Linked DNA regions of Homo sapiens: region 1 is linked to region 2. Evidence: promoter capture Hi-C in human tissues and cell types (Jung and others, 2019). All regions are on one chromosome and are shown on one strand. Each heading gives the region's core, a stretch centred on a gene start or on the middle of the fragment in contact. The rest is flanking DNA. Distances are from core to core; before and after follow the strand shown.

Evidence for each region. The method cuts DNA at HindIII sites, captures the fragments that hold promoters and counts their contacts. A contact is called where the count stands out against the background at its distance.
Region 1: a fragment that was not itself captured here is called in contact with the fragment with the promoter of EPO in region 2 in 2 of the 25 tissues and cell types used here (mesenchymal stem cells and neural progenitor cells).

Annotation. Positions count from the first base shown.
Region 1 is chr7:100,839,820-100,843,546 of GRCh38, forward strand. All of the region lies in intron 1 of SLC12A9-AS1 (SLC12A9 antisense RNA 1), which reads right to left. It also overlaps a transcript of SLC12A9 not described here. Among named protein-coding and RNA genes, the nearest start is that of SLC12A9-AS1, 11 kb to the right of the region's middle. The HindIII fragment of the contact is 3,742 bases long and covers 1-3,724 here.
Region 2 is chr7:100,718,810-100,722,257 of GRCh38, forward strand. It overlaps EPO (erythropoietin), which reads left to right and starts at 1,659. Exons shown (of 5, transcript NM_000799.4): 1 at 1,659-2,184; 2 at 2,749-2,894; 3 at 3,153-3,239. The coding sequence starts at 2,172. The HindIII fragment of the contact is 31,866 bases long and covers 1-3,448 here.

The sequences.
Region 1 (3,727 bases), core at 604-3,103, 120 kb after region 2:
ATGACGAGGTCAGGAGATCGAGACCATCCTGGCTAACACGGTGAAACCCCTTCTCTACTAAAAATACAAAAAAATTAGCTGGGCGTGGTGGTGGGTGCCTGTAGTCCCCACCAGAGCGAGACTCCGTCTCAAAAAAAAAAAAAAAAGAAACTTGCCCACTGCATTTAAGTGGAAGCGTGGCCTGATCACCCATGGTGTGCCTGTACCGGCACTTTAGTTTTTGTTTTTGACTTGACTTAGATTGCTTAATACTCTGGTTTTGGTTTTGACCTAACTTAGATTTCTAGATACTCTGATTTTAGTTTTGATTTTAGTTTGGTGCAAACTGCGAAAGTGTGTGTGTGCCCTTTTTACCTGTTCTTTGTTTTGTGGTGTGCGTGTGGTGTGAGTGTGGTGTTTTGTGTCGAAGAAGCATAGGTCAGGCACAAATAAGCCCACCCTGCTAGGAACTATGTTGAAAAATTTCAAAAAAGAATTTAAAGGAGACTATAGAGTACTATGACACGAGGAAAACTTAAAACTTTGTGTAAGATAGACTGGCCAGCATTAGAGGTAGGTTGGCCATTAGAAAAAAGCCTGGACAGGTCCCTTGTTTCAAAGGTATGGCACAAAGTAACCTGTAAGCCAGGGAACCCAGACCAGTTCCCGTACATAGACACTTGGTTACAGCTAGTTTTAGACCCCCCGCCCCCAACACACAGCGGTTGAGAACAGCAGCATAAGTGGCTGGCAGAGGCAAAGAAAGACCAGCAGAAAGAGAGAAAGGAAAGAGACAGAGAGGAAGAGACAGAGAGGAAAAGACAGACAGAGAGGGAGTCAAGGAGAGAGAGAAAGACAGAGAGAAAGAAATGCAGAGAGAGAGAAGAGACAGAGGCAAAAAGAAAGTCAAAGAGAGACAAAGTCAAAGAAAGAAAGAAAGAGAGATATACAAGCAGTTAAGAAAAAAAAAAGGTGTACCCTATTCCTTTAAAAGCCAAGGTAAATTTAAAACCTATAATTGATAATTGAAGGTATTCTCCGTAACCCTGTAACACTCCAATACCACTTTGTTGTCAGTGTAAACAAAGCCGTATCCGAAAGCACTGAGGCCTTCCTATCAAAAATCCTTAACCCAGTGACCCGCGGATGGCCCAAATGCATTCAGTCTGTAGCGGCAACTGCTTTGCTAACAACAAAAAAAAAGTAAAAAAAAAAAACTTTTAGAGGAAACCTCATTGTGAGCACACCTCACCAGTTCAGAAGTATCCTAAGGAAAAAAGAATTTTTTTTCCTTAGGGGGTGGAATTTATATAAAAAGAGTATTATATAGTAAATTGTTGTCCTGAAATAAATTAACTGGTTTAAAGAAAGAAATATTTGTAATAAGTCAAAAAGTTGAAGAATATCGAAGAATTGTCTGCGAAAACCATGAAAGAAAAAAAGTTATAAAAAAGAATTTATGCAAAAATGTAGTATAATTTAAAAGTAACTAGGCCTCCTGAATGTAAAACTATTTAAAAAAAAAAACAAACCAGTTTATGTGCAAGGTGTATAAGAAAAGTAAAATATACCTTTGGTAAGGAGGCATAAGAATGTACATTTTTACCTATGTTAAAAAGTTAAAACAAATTATTGTTTTAAAAGTTTAAGCAAGTTTTAAAATGTTAATTGTAAAGAAAATTCTGTATGTAAACATATTAGCTAAAGTTAAAGAAGTATCATCCAGTTTTTCTGTGAACTGGACATTAAAGTAAAAGCATAACAGGTTTTTCTTAAAGCACCAACCTGCTCTTTAGCAAAAATTATAAAAAGTTAAAAAGAGTCTATAAAATCTTACCTTATGGTCAAACATTAAAAATTAGATAAATATGTCTATAAAGTTTTATTAAAATTAGGTTTAACATTCATAACACACGAATATAAAGATAAAATTTAGCTTATCTGGTATGAAAATCATACGAGAAGCATTGTTAAATGTAAAAAAAATTTGGCTTTCTTTAGTTTAAAAACTAATAAAAATAGGTGCTAAAGGAAATTTCTCAGTAAAAAGGCACTAAGGACTATAAAGTCCACGGCCAAGGTCCCCACATTTAAAACAAAAAGACATTTTCTTAAAAATCATATACTTGGTTTACCTTCCACTTTCCTTTCTCTCAAAAACTAAAAGTCTTTTAGCACATGTACCACCCCTAGAATTTCCGGTAAACCAGCACCAGCCTGAAGATCATATTCTCATCAAACTGTGGAAGAAAAACTCAAGCCAGCCTGGGAAGGACCCTGCCTTGTGCTGCTAACCACCAAGACTGCTGTTCGTACAGAAAAAAAAAAAAAGAATGGACTCATCACATCCGAGTCAAGAAAGTGCCACCCCCTCCAGAGTTGTAGGCCATAGTCCCAAAGGAAAACCCTATCAAACTAAAGCTAAGAAAAACTTAACTCTTTTCATCTATTCTATTACTCTTTCTTCTTTCCTCATTCTATTGCTGACCATCTAGTTATTAACATAACCAAGTCAATTTCTCCTCAAACTATTGCATTTAATGATTGCTTTGTTATACCCTGTGAGGACTTGCCAAGTCAAAGACAGCTCTCTACTTCAGAAAAGCACTTCTGTCTCTCCTGACTCTCCTCAGACTGGGCATTAGTAAACTAGGACCATTTAATCCAGGGAGATTTCGATAAAGACCCCAGTGCCAACGAAGAGTCTTGCCCCCGACGTAGAGCTTTCATGCCATAGTTGGTCCAATGTTCTGTGGACCATTAAAGAGCAAAGATGGACTGCCCCAACCGGTTTTTATAATTTCCTAAAATCATACATTAATTTTACTAGAGGATCATAGAAGTTAAAGACTTAAAACAAATTTTAGCAATTAAGACAGGATACCAACATGCAAATGCCTAGTTAAAATGGATCAAATATTCCATCTGCACATTAAACAAAAGCAATTGTTATGCTTGTGCACATGGCAGGCCAGAGGCCCAGACTGTCCCCCTTCCACTAAGGTGGTCCTCCAGTCGACCAGGTGTAGGTTGCATGGTAGCTCTTTTCCAGGATTCTACAGCCTGGAGTAATAAGTCATGCCAAGCTCTCTCTGCTGTATCCCTAAGTCTGGCACCCTGCGGGTCAGCCCCTGAGGGCCATCCAGCTTCCGTCTCCCAACACTAAGTTCACTTCGTATCTCTCACTACAGGGAGGAAACTTAGCATTCCTTGGAGACCTGAAGGGATGCGATGAGCTTAAGAATTTTCAAGAGCTTATTAATCAGTCAGCCCTTGTTCATCCCTGAGCGGATGTGTGGTGGTATTTTGGTGGACCTTTACTAGGCACTCTGCCGAATAACTGGAGTGGCACTTGTACTTTAGTCCAATTGGCTATCCCTTTCACCCTGGCATTTCATCAACCAGAGGGAGAAAAAATAAGACATTGTAAAGCGAGAGAAGCCCCTTATGGGTCTTTTGACTCTCATGTCTATTTAGACGCAATTGGAGTCCCATGAGGAATACCAGATCAATTTAAAGCTTGAAATCAAATAGCTGCAGGATTTGAGTCAATATTTTGGTGAGTGACAGTTAATAAAAATGTAGATTAGATAAACTACATCTATTACAACCAACAGCAATGAGCTTTTCATGAGTTAAAAGAAAAACTCATGTCGGCCCCAGCCCTGAGGCTACCTGAACCCTTTACACCCTACGTGTCAGAAAGAGAAAAAAAGGCAGTTAGAGTTTTAACCCAGACTGTAGGGCC
Region 2 (3,448 bases), core at 409-2,908:
CTCATAATCAAATGACCCTAAATCCCTCACTAACCTACCCCCGCCCTCACTAAACTTAATAATAAATGATGGTACATCTGGTGCATTGTTGACACCACGGGACCAGAAGGCGGTGACCCCCCGGACCAGCTTTCACTATCTTGTGTGTGTCTATTATTTCTCAACCTGCTGATCCGCCTGGGAACAAAGAGAGAGCCCTGTTGCATTGCGGGCTGCTGGCCAGATCCCGCAATACTCACCTGACTCTCCATTCACTTTGCTGAATCGACAATCCCCCACCCACCTCATACCTCTTCCCATTGATGTCCTACCCCCCTTCAAGGCTGAGGTCATTGTCACCTCCTCCCTCAAATCTTTCTTGATTTCTCCCGGCTAACTCTTACAGCTCAGATCTACACATTCCAGTCTTTTTTTGTTTTTGAGACAGGCTCTCACTCTGTCGCCCAGGCTGCAGTGCAGTGGCACGATCATGGCTCACTACGGCCTCGAACTCCTGGGCTCAGGTGATCCTCCTGCCTTAGCCTCCTGCATATTTGGGACTACAGGCGTGAGCCACCACACCTGACTAATTATTTTTTATTTATTTATTTATTTTAGAGACAAGGTCTTGCCATGTTGTCCGGGCTGGTCTCGAACTCCTGGGCTCAAAGGATCTTCCTGCCTTGGTCTCCCAAAGTGCTGGGATTATAGGTGTCAGCTGCGGCGCCTGGACCTTTCCTGTCTTTTATGAAACCTGAATGGGATAGGCTGGTAGTTTCACCACACCCATTTGACAGATGAGGACATTGAGGGCTCAAGGACGAGGCCACTTTCTAAGGTGTGAGAGACCAGCTAGTCTTGGTCTCCTGCTCTGGGAATCTCACTCCTCTGGCTCAGGGTTTCCAGAAGCCATAAAACCTTAGCTGTAAATCCCAGCCCCCATCACTCTTGGTGTTAGCTGTATTTCAGTGTTCTTAAGAACTCAGCAATGCAGCCTAGCTAACCTACACCACAGGTCAAATAAACAGATGTCAAGGTGCATGTGTGTCCTGCACAATGGACTGTGTGCTCTGTGCACTAAAAGTTAAGTGTCTGGGGTGGGGGCTGGGTGCGGTGGCTCACGCCTGCAATCCCAGCACTTTGAGAGGCCGAGGAGGGTGGATCACCTGAGGTCAGGAGTTCAAGACCGGTATGGGCAATATGGCAACACCCCATCTCTACTAAAAATACAAAACATAGCCGGGTGTAAAGGTGTGCCTGTAGTCCCAGCTGCTCCAGAGGCTGAAGCAGGAGAATTGCTTGAACCCAGGAGGCAGAGGTTGTAGTGAACGGGAGATGGCACCACTGCACTGCCTGGGCAACATAGGGAGGCTACATCTCCAGAAAAAAAAAAAAAAGTTAAGTGTCTGGGTTTGCAGAGTACTAGACGGTGAGGAGTGAGGTGGGGAGGAAGAACCCCAAATTTCTTGCCCTATTTGCCCCCATCAAATTCCTCAACATGGTCAACATTGTTTCTAGAACATGTCCTGGGATTGTGGGAAGGGAGACCACTCATTTGCCCCTCCCTAAAGCTTCTGGGCTTCCAGACCCAGCTACTTTGCGGAACTCAGCAACCCAGGCATCTCTGAGTCTCCGCCCAAGACCGGGATGCCCCCCAGGGGAGGTGTCCGGGAGCCCAGCCTTTCCCAGATAGCACGCTCCGCCAGTCCCAAGGGTGCGCAACCGGCTGCACTCCCCTCCCGCGACCCAGGGCCCGGGAGCAGCCCCCATGACCCACACGCACGTCTGCAGCAGCCCCGCTCACGCCCCGGCGAGCCTCAACCCAGGCGTCCTGCCCCTGCTCTGACCCCGGGTGGCCCCTACCCCTGGCGACCCCTCACGCACACAGCCTCTCCCCCACCCCCACCCGCGCACGCACACATGCAGATAACAGCCCCGACCCCCGGCCAGAGCCGCAGAGTCCCTGGGCCACCCCGGCCGCTCGCTGCGCTGCGCCGCACCGCGCTGTCCTCCCGGAGCCGGACCGGGGCCACCGCGCCCGCTCTGCTCCGACACCGCGCCCCCTGGACAGCCGCCCTCTCCTCCAGGCCCGTGGGGCTGGCCCTGCACCGCCGAGCTTCCCGGGATGAGGGCCCCCGGTGTGGTCACCCGGCGCGCCCCAGGTCGCTGAGGGACCCCGGCCAGGCGCGGAGATGGGGGTGCACGGTGAGTACTCGCGGGCTGGGCGCTCCCGCCCGCCCGGGTCCCTGTTTGAGCGGGGATTTAGCGCCCCGGCTATTGGCCAGGAGGTGGCTGGGTTCAAGGACCGGCGACTTGTCAAGGACCCCGGAAGGGGGAGGGGGGTGGGGCAGCCTCCACGTGCCAGCGGGGACTTGGGGGAGTCCTTGGGGATGGCAAAAACCTGACCTGTGAAGGGGACACAGTTTGGGGGTTGAGGGGAAGAAGGTTTGGGGGTTCTGCTGTGCCAGTGGAGAGGAAGCTGATAAGCTGATAACCTGGGCGCTGGAGCCACCACTTATCTGCCAGAGGGGAAGCCTCTGTCACACCAGGATTGAAGTTTGGCCGGAGAAGTGGATGCTGGTAGCTGGGGGTGGGGTGTGCACACGGCAGCAGGATTGAATGAAGGCCAGGGAGGCAGCACCTGAGTGCTTGCATGGTTGGGGACAGGAAGGACGAGCTGGGGCAGAGACGTGGGGATGAAGGAAGCTGTCCTTCCACAGCCACCCTTCTCCCTCCCCGCCTGACTCTCAGCCTGGCTATCTGTTCTAGAATGTCCTGCCTGGCTGTGGCTTCTCCTGTCCCTGCTGTCGCTCCCTCTGGGCCTCCCAGTCCTGGGCGCCCCACCACGCCTCATCTGTGACAGCCGAGTCCTGGAGAGGTACCTCTTGGAGGCCAAGGAGGCCGAGAATATCACGGTGAGACCCCTTCCCCAGCACATTCCACAGAACTCACGCTCAGGGCTTCAGGGAACTCCTCCCAGATCCAGGAACCTGGCACTTGGTTTGGGGTGGAGTTGGGAAGCTAGACACTGCCCCCCTACATAAGAATAAGTCTGGTGGCCCCAAACCATACCTGGAAACTAGGCAAGGAGCAAAGCCAGCAGATCCTACGGCCTGTGGGCCAGGGCCAGAGCCTTCAGGGACCCTTGACTCCCCGGGCTGTGTGCATTTCAGACGGGCTGTGCTGAACACTGCAGCTTGAATGAGAATATCACTGTCCCAGACACCAAAGTTAATTTCTATGCCTGGAAGAGGATGGAGGTGAGTTCCTTTTTTTTTTTTTTTCCTTTCTTTTGGAGAATCTCATTTGCGAGCCTGATTTTGGATGAAAGGGAGAATGATCGAGGGAAAGGTAAAATGGAGCAGCAGAGATGAGGCTGCCTGGGCGCAGAGGCTCACGTCTATAATCCCAGGCTGAGATGGCCGAGATGGGAGAATTGCTTGAGCCCTGGAGTTTCAGACCAACCTAG